Linked DNA regions of Homo sapiens: all the other regions are linked to region 2. The links are contacts of gene promoters, found by promoter capture Hi-C in blood cells and fetal thymus (Javierre and others, 2016). All regions are on one chromosome and are shown on one strand. Each heading gives the region's core, a stretch centred on a gene start or on the middle of the fragment in contact. The rest is flanking DNA. Distances are from core to core; before and after follow the strand shown.

Region 1 (2,954 bases), core at 20-2,519, 160 kb before region 2:
CTCTAATCTCTCCCTAGAACCATCCTTTCCTGGCTGGGCGCGGTGGCTCCCACCTGTAATCCCAGCACTTCGGGAGGCCGAGGCGGGTGGATCACTTGAGGCCAGAAGTTTGAGACCAGCCAGGCCAACGTGGTGAAACCTCATCTCTACTAAAAATACAAAAATACAAAAATTAGCCAGGTGTGGTGGCAGGTGTCTGTAATCCCAGTGACTCGGGAGACTGAGGCAGGAGAATCGCTTGAGCCTGGTAGTTGGAGGTTGCAGTGAGCGGAGACAGCACCACCACACTCCAGCATGGGAAAACAGAGCAAGACTCTGTCTCAGAAAAAAAAAGAAAAAAAAAAAAAGAAGAAAAACTATCCTTTCTGGCAGCCTTTTTGCTGGTCTTCGAACAGGACAGGTATGCTTCTGCCTCCAAGTTCTTTTTATTCATGATGCCTCTATTAGATCTTTCTTCCAATATCATCCTCTTACTGAAGCCTTCCCTAACCATCCTATTTAAAATTGGACATCTGCCCACCACTCCCTGCGACTTCCACATTGCATCTCCCCTTCTCTATTCTATTTTTCTGTAATACTTATCACCATCTGACACAGCATATATTTTACTTAACTATTTCTCTTCTCTGCTTGACCTCATAGTTCCCACAAACATACATGATGTGGACAAGGACTTTTGTCTGTTTTGTCTGGTCTGACATCCCCAGCATCTAGAATAGGGCCTTTCAGTAATGACTGCTCAAATATTTGTTGAATAAATAATTTTATTTTTTATATTATATTATTTTATTTTAGAGATGGAGTGTCACTCACTCTGTTGCCCAGGCTGGAGTGCAGTGGTGCTTACTACAACCTCTGCCTCCCGGCTTTGACCGATTCTTCTGCTTCAGCCTCCTGAATAGCTGGGATTACAGGCGCGCCACCATGCCTGACTAATTTTTGTATTTTTAGTCGGGATGGGGTTTCACCACGTTGGCCAGGCTGGTCTCAAACTCCTGGCTCAAGTGATCTGCCTGCCTTGGCCTCCCAAAGTGCTGGGATTACAGGCATAAGCCACTGCATTCAGCCTGGATAAGTAATTTTAAAAATGAATCAGTGAATGAGTCTCAAGGGGAAGCAGCTATGCTAAGCATGACCTGCTTCCTTCCTTTGAACACTAGTCAGGAGACTCACAAGATACTCTAGTGAAAACCGTTCCACATGGGAATCTGAGGGTTGGGGAATAAGTATTCCCCTAAAAAATGATGAGGAAAAATTTATCACAAAATATCTTTTCAAATCAGACCAGTGTTGTTCTTTAAGATTGCAGAAGTGGAAAAAAGATTAGCTTCATGCAAAATCTCTCAGGAGAAGAATAAAACTAGGGTTTTAAAAATTGAGTCAGAGAAAGAAAGAAAATGATTTGTGTTAGGAAATACCTTTCAGAAAAATCTAAACAATCCTCCTTTGGTCATTAAGGCTGGGGTAAGAGACCAAAAATTAATCATTTGATTAAAGAATAAAATTCCCAGATCTTGAAGACTAAAATATAAAAGGAGAATATTTATGGTAAGAAAGAAGAAATAGAAGTGAGTGAGATTTTATGAACTGGACAAGTAAAAGGTAGCTTTTCATACAGAGGTCCTTGAAAAGTTCCAGAGCCTTTAGTTCCTTAAAGATAAACTCTTGGAAGGAATAAAACATAAAAGAAGAAATAAAACTATTTGCGGTGGCAAAGGTAACAGTAGATTTATTTGTCTCACAACTCTCTCTAGTTTGTGGTTACATGCACATTTTTAGCTCTGCCATTGTGATTATTCCTCTCAGAACCTCAACTGGGCCAGGCATGGTGGCTCACACTTATAGTCCCAGCTACTTGGGAGGCTGAGGCAGGAGAATTGCTTGAGCCAAGCAGGTTGAGGCTGCAGTGAGCTGTGATCGTGCCACTGCACTCCAGCCTGGGCAACAAAATTAAACCCCATCTCAAAAACAAAAAACAACAACAACCAAAACAAAACAAATACAAAAACCCTCAAATGTCATCCTAGAGAGAAATTAAGCCTCACATCAAACCCCAGGTTGACAAACCATGCTTGCTTCCAAACCCAGAAAGCTGCCAGAAGTTAAAGATGATCAGGTTTTATTAGATTATCTTGGAGGCAAGATTATAATGAAAAATACTTAAGAAGTATTTTTTGGCTGGGCGCGATGGCTCACGCCTGTAATCTCAGGATTTTCGGAGGCCTAGGCAGACGGATCACAAGGTCAGGCGATCGAGACCATGCTGGCTAACACAGTGAAATCCTGTTTCTACTAAAAATACAAAAAATTAGCTGGGTGTGGTGGCGGGCGCCTGTAGTCCCAGCTACTTGGGAGGCTGAGGCAGGAGAATGGCGTGAACCTGGAAGGTGGAGCTTGCAGTGAGCCGAGATTGCGCCACTGCACTCCAGCCTGGGTGACACAGCAAGACTTTGTCTCAAAAAAAAAAAAAAAAAAAAAAGAAGTAATTCTTAGGTCATTCATAAAATTACATTAAACAATGTGCTTCAAATAAAGAAAGCTGAAAGTGTTAACTCTGTAGGAGTGAGACTATGGATAGTATTTAGCATGATTGTGTGTTAGGGATAATTTATTTTTATATTTATTTATTTATTATTTTTTGAGACGGATTCTTGCTCTGTCACCCAGGCTGGAGCGCAGTGGCGTGATCTTGGCTCACTGCAACTTTCACCTCCTGTACTCAAGCAATTCTCCTATCTCAGCCTCCCAAGTAGCTGGGATTACAGATGCCACCATCATGCCCAGTTAATTTTTGTATTTTTAGTAGAGACAGGGTTTCACCACGTTGGCCAGGCTGGTATCCAACTCCTGACCTCAAATGATCCACCTGCCTCGGCCTCCCAAAGTTCTGGGATTATAGGCGTGAGCCATCGTGCCTGGCCTATTTATTTATTATTTATTTTGAGACAGGTTCT
Region 2 (3,002 bases), core at 360-2,859:
TGTGTGTGTGTGTGTGTTGTGTTTTCCTTATCATCCACCTTAGAAAATATTCTCCACATTCCCATGTTAAAATATTTTTTCCTAAAATCCATCCATCCACATGCCAACATCCTAAAGACAGTAATATAGGTTCATTGCAGAGGATTTGGAAAATACAGAATTGTGACCAGAACAAACTAAACTGCATCCATAATTTTATCATCGAATTTGATCAACATTTTGGTGAATAGCCACCAGTCTGTTTTCTATCTTTTTAGGGAATATAAGTTCCAAGAGGCAGGGATGTCATTCACTTCTGTGACTCAGTGCTCTGAATCAGGCCCAGTGAAGACTGACGTGCAGCCTGTATTGGCAGAATGAATGAATAAATACTACACACGCATATTTTGAATTGAAATAAGTTGTCAGGGTGCAGCAGAGAATAACAGAAATAGAATTGCTTGGATGTGCTGACCTAGATCCAAGCTGCTACTGGTAACGTACTGTATCTCCTTGAATAAGTCACTTCACCTCTCTGGGCCTGAGCTGCTTCTTCAGTAAAATAATCCTTGTAGCTAAGATTTGTTGAGCGCTCACTATGCACACTGCCATGAGCCCCTATATGTGTATTTCTCATCATAGCTCTATGAGTTACATACCTGCCATCTCCATTTTATGCATGAGAAAATAGGCATGGAGAAGTTAAGTGGTTTGCCTAAAGTCACACAGCAAATTTGTGGAGAGCTGGGCTTGAACTCAGGCATCTGGGCTTTTACTCTCTCCAGTGGAATGCCTGGGCTGTGGGATGAGATGACTTCACAGGCCTCTCCCAGCTCCAGAGTTGAGAGAGAGAGAGGAGTGGTGCAGGGAGGTAGTAGGGATGATTATGCTACTGGCCAAGTTCAAGAAAGTCAATTGTAGAACAAGGTCCAGCTGATTATTACAGAGAGCAAAGTTCTTAACTAGAGGACTTCCTCCTGGAATGTGGAGAGTCCACACGGGCACTAGCAGAGCATAATGAAAGACCAGGAATTCTCTGCTGTTCAATCAGTGCTCCATCACTCAGAGGCAGGGCTGCAAGAGCTCCTAGTGTGTCCCCTTCGCCTTCAGGGCCTCCCTGTACAGCCACCCACAGGACAGTGCACCAGGGTCAGGCAGGGAAGTAAATAAAAAAAGGAATCTGATAATTCCTGACAGTGAGCAGCAGCTGATGCTTTTAATGGGGGAGGAAGACTGGGAATCTCGCTTGATGATGACCTAGGACTTCAGTCAGCAGGACACTGGCCCCTTTCCTCCCCCTCCCAGGCTGAAACCTTGTGTTTTGCCTTATGTCCATGGTAACCAAGTCTCCTTTTTGGTGAGGAGGAATGGGCTTCAGTAAACAGATCTATTTGTGTGATCCTGTTACTCATTTGAAGCAATGTCCCTCCTTTTTTCCACTGTGGTCTGTGTGTCTGAGTCAGAGAGAGCCTACAACAGGGTTCTTTGAATTGATGGCTCACTCCCAGCCACTCTTGACTGACTGCCAGCTTAGCAGGGCGTAGCTTACCAACAAATCTTTTTTTTTTTTTTAAAGCCAGACTGATTCATAGAAACTCCTTTAAAACACGGTGAAAAGAAACCGCCCATTACACACCCCAGTACACCAGCAGAGGAAACTTATAACCTCGGGAGGCAGGTCCTTCCCCTCAGTGCGGTCACATACTTCCAGAAGAGCGGACCAGGGCTGCTGCCAGCACCTGCCACTCAGAGCGCCTCTGTCGCTGGGACCCTTCAGGTAGGACAGCTCCCAACGCTGTGGGGACTCTCAGCAAAACTTCTCCTTCCTTTCCACGGCTCTGCTTCTTCTGACCTCATCTTAGTTTTGCTTTTTCTTTTCTTCCTTCGCTATTTTTCTATGATCCTCTAAGAACCAAGTCCTTGAAACTTTTGGCTCAAAGTGGATACAGAGACAACTTTTTCTAGAAAGTTCAGAAAAGTGTATTTTGAGGACGGAGTCTGGGGAAATCAATGGGATGGGGCTAAAATCGTGCCTGGCAGTGACCGGGTTCTTGTTCTAGGATGTGGAGGGAGCAGGGACTTTGAAACAAACTGGGATAGGATCCTGTTTATGGAGGAAACACCACACACCTTGGAAATGACATCGGGAACTGGCCAGATGTTTTTCACCTCCTCCGTTTTGATTCCGATTGCTTCAGGACTTGAACTGTTACTCTGCTCGCTGGTTGTTGGTTGGGATTTTTTGGGTGGTGGTGGATAGATAACTGGTTTTCAGTTTATTTTTGACATTGCTTTTCCTGCCTGTTTGCTTCCCTATTCACTTCTGTTTAAATTTAAGTATTTTTTTTCTCCTCACAGGATGGGAAGAGGGGGATTGGTTTGTTTAAAGAAAACTGTTGGCCGGGCACGGTGGCTCATGCCTGTAATCCTAGCACTTTGGGAGGCTGAGGCGGGCGGATCACCTGAGGTCAGGAGTTCAAGACAAGCCTGGCCAACATGGTGAAACCCTGTCTCTACTAAAATACAAAAAGTAGCCAGGCATGATGGCAGGTGCCTGTAATTCTAGCTACTTGGTAGGCTGAGACGGGAGAATTGCTTGAATCCGGGAGATGGTGGTTGCAGTGAACTGAGATTGCGCCACTACACTCCAGCCTGGGCAGCTGAGTGAGACTCTGTCTCAAAAAGGAAAAAAAAGAAAAAGAAAAAAAATGAAAAAAGAAAACTGTTAGAGAGAGAAAGAGAGGGAGGCAAATGGTGTTTTAAATGAAACGTGGGAGGGGTTCACTTGGTCGAAGCAGGAGCTGATGAGGATTCCAGATGCCTTCTCTTGGCCAGATGTGGAGGGCGGGGGAGGCAAAAGGGAAGCTGGGTTTGGAGAAGAGGGTGGGGCAGGAGAACTTCATCTGTGCCTGTTAAAAATTGTTGAGTGGCTTTGTGCTTTCACCCCAGAAAGAGCTGCCTTTCAGTGCTGAGTGAAAAGATGGCATACCAGAAACGATAAAAGAACTTTTAAAAGAAAGTGG
Region 3 (2,956 bases), core at 277-2,776, 190 kb before region 2:
GTGATTGTTTATGGTCAGATACATATTGTTAAACTTGAAAATGTTTTATTACATTACATCAAATAAAGTCTATTTGTAGCTGAAAAAACTAAAAATAATAAAAAGGAGGAAACTGAGGCTTAAAACAATTAAGTAACTTTCCCAGGCAACAACTAATGTGTGGCTTGGTGAGGATTTGAACTCATGTCTGTGTTGTCAGCGTCCATAATGCTTTGTACTCTGTCACCCTGGCTTTTCCGACCTGTATCTACATCTACATATGGCACTGCTTTCCAAATACTTTCTAAATGTCCAGCTTCCCCCTTGGACTCACTCCTTGAAACTGACTTCTCTGAAAGTGTCCCTCAAACACTGTGTCCATGAACACTGTGTGGTCCTGTCTGAACTCTCTTGTCATCTCATTTGTTCTAATATTCTGCCTACTTGAGGATTCTCTTTTCTTTTTTTTGATACAGGATCTCACTCTGTTGCCCAGGCTGGAGTGCAGTGGCATGAGCTTGGCTCACTGCAGCTTCGAACTCCCTGGCTCAAGTGCTCATCCCACCTTAGCCTCCCAAGTAGCTGGGACTGCAGGTGCACACCTAATTTTTCTATTTTTTGTAGAGACAAGGTTTCTCCATGTTGCCCAGGCTGGTCTCAAACTCCTGGGCTCAAGCAATTCGTCCAACTTGGCCTGTCGAAGTGCTGGGATTACAGGTGTGAGCCACTTTGCCCAGCCTATTTTTCTTTTTTTGAGAGAGGATCTTGCTCTGTCACCCAGGCTGGGGAGCAGTGGTGCGATCATGGCTCACTGCAGCCTAGAACTCCTGGGCTCAAGTGATCCTGCCACCTCAGCCTCCTGACTACCTGGGACTACAGGTGTGCACCACTACTGCCAGTGAATTTTTAATACATTTTTGCAGAGAAGGGAATCTCACTATGTTACCCATGCTGGTCTCAAACTCCTGCCTCAGTTGATCCTCCTCCATCCGCCTCCCAAAGTGGTTAAATTAAGCCAACCTGCCTGGCCTTTATGAGGATTCTTTATGCATGTTTTACCCATTGGTTGCATTGTCATTTGAAATTGTTAACCTAATTGTCAGACTAATTTGTGGCAGCTGCCCTAAACCAGAGCTGAGGGATTGCCTGCTGTGCTTTCCTCCTGAGCAAGGGGAAGTTGAGCCGGAGCCAGGTAGTGGCAATCAATAATAGTGGTACTGTTGACCTCTAGCTTTGTGGTAAAAGATATTAACTTTATTAACTCCAGACAAAAAATATTTGCCCTTTGACAAATATTTGTTCATTGCTATAAAGTAAATTGCCATTTAATTATTTCATAGTTCCTTGACTCTAAGATGCTATTGATTATAAGACAGGCCCTGTTATTTTATGTGCCACCAAGAAAAAAAACAAATGCTACTAAGTAAACTATGACATTCAATTGATTTTAAATGCATCCAGAGACATTAAAATGTGAAATAGCATGCAGCTTGGAGTTCATAAGAGATTCTTAGGTTGCTTTGTAAGGGTCTCTTGAGTATTTTTGCTCACAACCATACCTCCTTTATAACAAACTAATCTTTTAAAAGGCAAGATCTATTTTTCTTTAGCACTTCCCTCACTAGCCACACACAGAGGATGCTCAGTAAGTGTGGAATGATTTAAAACATTCTTGATATTAGAGCTAGTCATCTATTTTAGTTACTAAACTATATACAGTGCAATGGGCTCTATTACTCAGTATGGTCAAGTAGCGGAAGTATTTGGGAATCAGAAAACATCGGGTCAAAAGATGGGGATTCCAATCTGGCTCTGTCCTACCAGTGTAATGAATATTTCTTCTGCAAATTTCCTAACCTCTGCAGAACTCACTTTCTTTCTTTTTTTAAATTTAGAGACAGGGTCTTGCTATGTTGCCCATGTTGGTCTCAAACTCCTTGGCTCAAGTGATCTTCCCACCTCGGCCTCCCACAGTGCTGGGATTACAGGTGTGAGCCACTGCACCTGGCCTCAGAACTCACTTTCTACATCTGCAACACTGGGGTAATAATGCCAGCTCACAGTGCTGTCGGGAGGATTAAAGGAGTCCAGGCAATAAAAAGCACTGTATACACTGTTAAGGGCTAGATTCTCCCCACACCAGTGGTCAAGTTTGTCCTGCTACCAAGGGCTGAACATTGCTGCTTCAAGAGCATTGTGGGGAAGCATCATTTTAAAGTCCAGATTATTTGGTGTCTTGCCTTTTTTTTTTTTTTTTTTTTGAGATGGAATCTTGCTCTGTCTCCCAGGCACGATCTCGGCTTACTGCAAACTCAGCCTCCCAGGTTCAAGTGATTCTCCTGCCTCAGCCTCCCAAGTAGCTGGGATTATAGGCGCATGCCTCCCAAGTAGCTGGGATTACAGGCGCACACCCAGCTAATTTTTGTATTTTTAGTAGAGACAGGGTTTCACCATGTTGGCCAGGCTGGTCTCGAACTCCTGACCTCAGGTGATCTGCCCGCCTCAGCCTCCCAAAGTGCTGGGATAATAGGCATGAGTCACCATGCCCAGCTATTTGGTGTCTTTCTTTATCTGAAGAATTTGGTATGCTGTGAGACATTTTCCTTTGCAATTTATTAGGTATTATGATTGAATACTGTTGAGTGTGTATAAACTGAAAGAAAAATTCTAAGCCCCCCACTCGACTGAATGGACCCCTCGTCTCAGCCAATGGAATTCCAAAGAAACCTGAAAAACTAGTTCAGGCCATGATGGGAAGTGGGGGTCCCATCATGCCTCATTATACCTTCCTCCTTTTGGAATTCAGGCACAACTGACCAGTATTAACATTAAATCTTAAGGCTGAAAACACAGACTCTTTGTAGCAATAAGATACCAAATTGTAACCTTGTATAGCATCATATGACAGATAGCAGCTCTGAAAGAAATAAAAATATTTTAGATGCCGGGCGCAGTGGCTCATGCCTGTAATCACAGC

What was found. Contacts are between HindIII fragments. The CHiCAGO score rates a contact against its expected background, and 5 or more counts as called.
Region 1: a fragment that was not itself captured here is called in contact with the fragment with the promoter of EMP1 in region 2 in 3 of 17 cell types (megakaryocytes, monocytes and endothelial precursors); the score reaches 7.4 in megakaryocytes.
Region 3: a contact is called between a fragment that was not itself captured here and the fragment with the promoter of EMP1 in region 2, in 4 of 17 cell types (monocytes, megakaryocytes, M2 macrophages and 1 more). The highest score is 7.2, in monocytes.

The regions. Positions count from the first base shown.
Region 1 is chr12:13,032,561-13,035,514 of GRCh38, forward strand. No RefSeq gene overlaps it. Among named protein-coding and RNA genes, the nearest start is that of FAM234B, 10 kb to the right of the region's middle. The HindIII fragment of the contact is 5,242 bases long and covers 1-2,954 here.
Region 2 is chr12:13,195,117-13,198,118 of GRCh38, forward strand. It overlaps EMP1 (epithelial membrane protein 1), which reads left to right and starts at 1,610. Exons shown (of 5, transcript NM_001423.3): 1 at 1,610-1,756. The HindIII fragment of the contact is 10,564 bases long and covers 1-3,002 here.
Region 3 is chr12:13,004,703-13,007,658 of GRCh38, forward strand. All of the region lies in intron 2 of GPRC5D-AS1 (GPRC5D and HEBP1 antisense RNA 1), which reads left to right. It also overlaps the pseudogene HTR7P1. Among named protein-coding and RNA genes, the nearest start is that of HEBP1, 5.9 kb to the left of the region's middle. The HindIII fragment of the contact is 5,436 bases long and covers 1-2,956 here.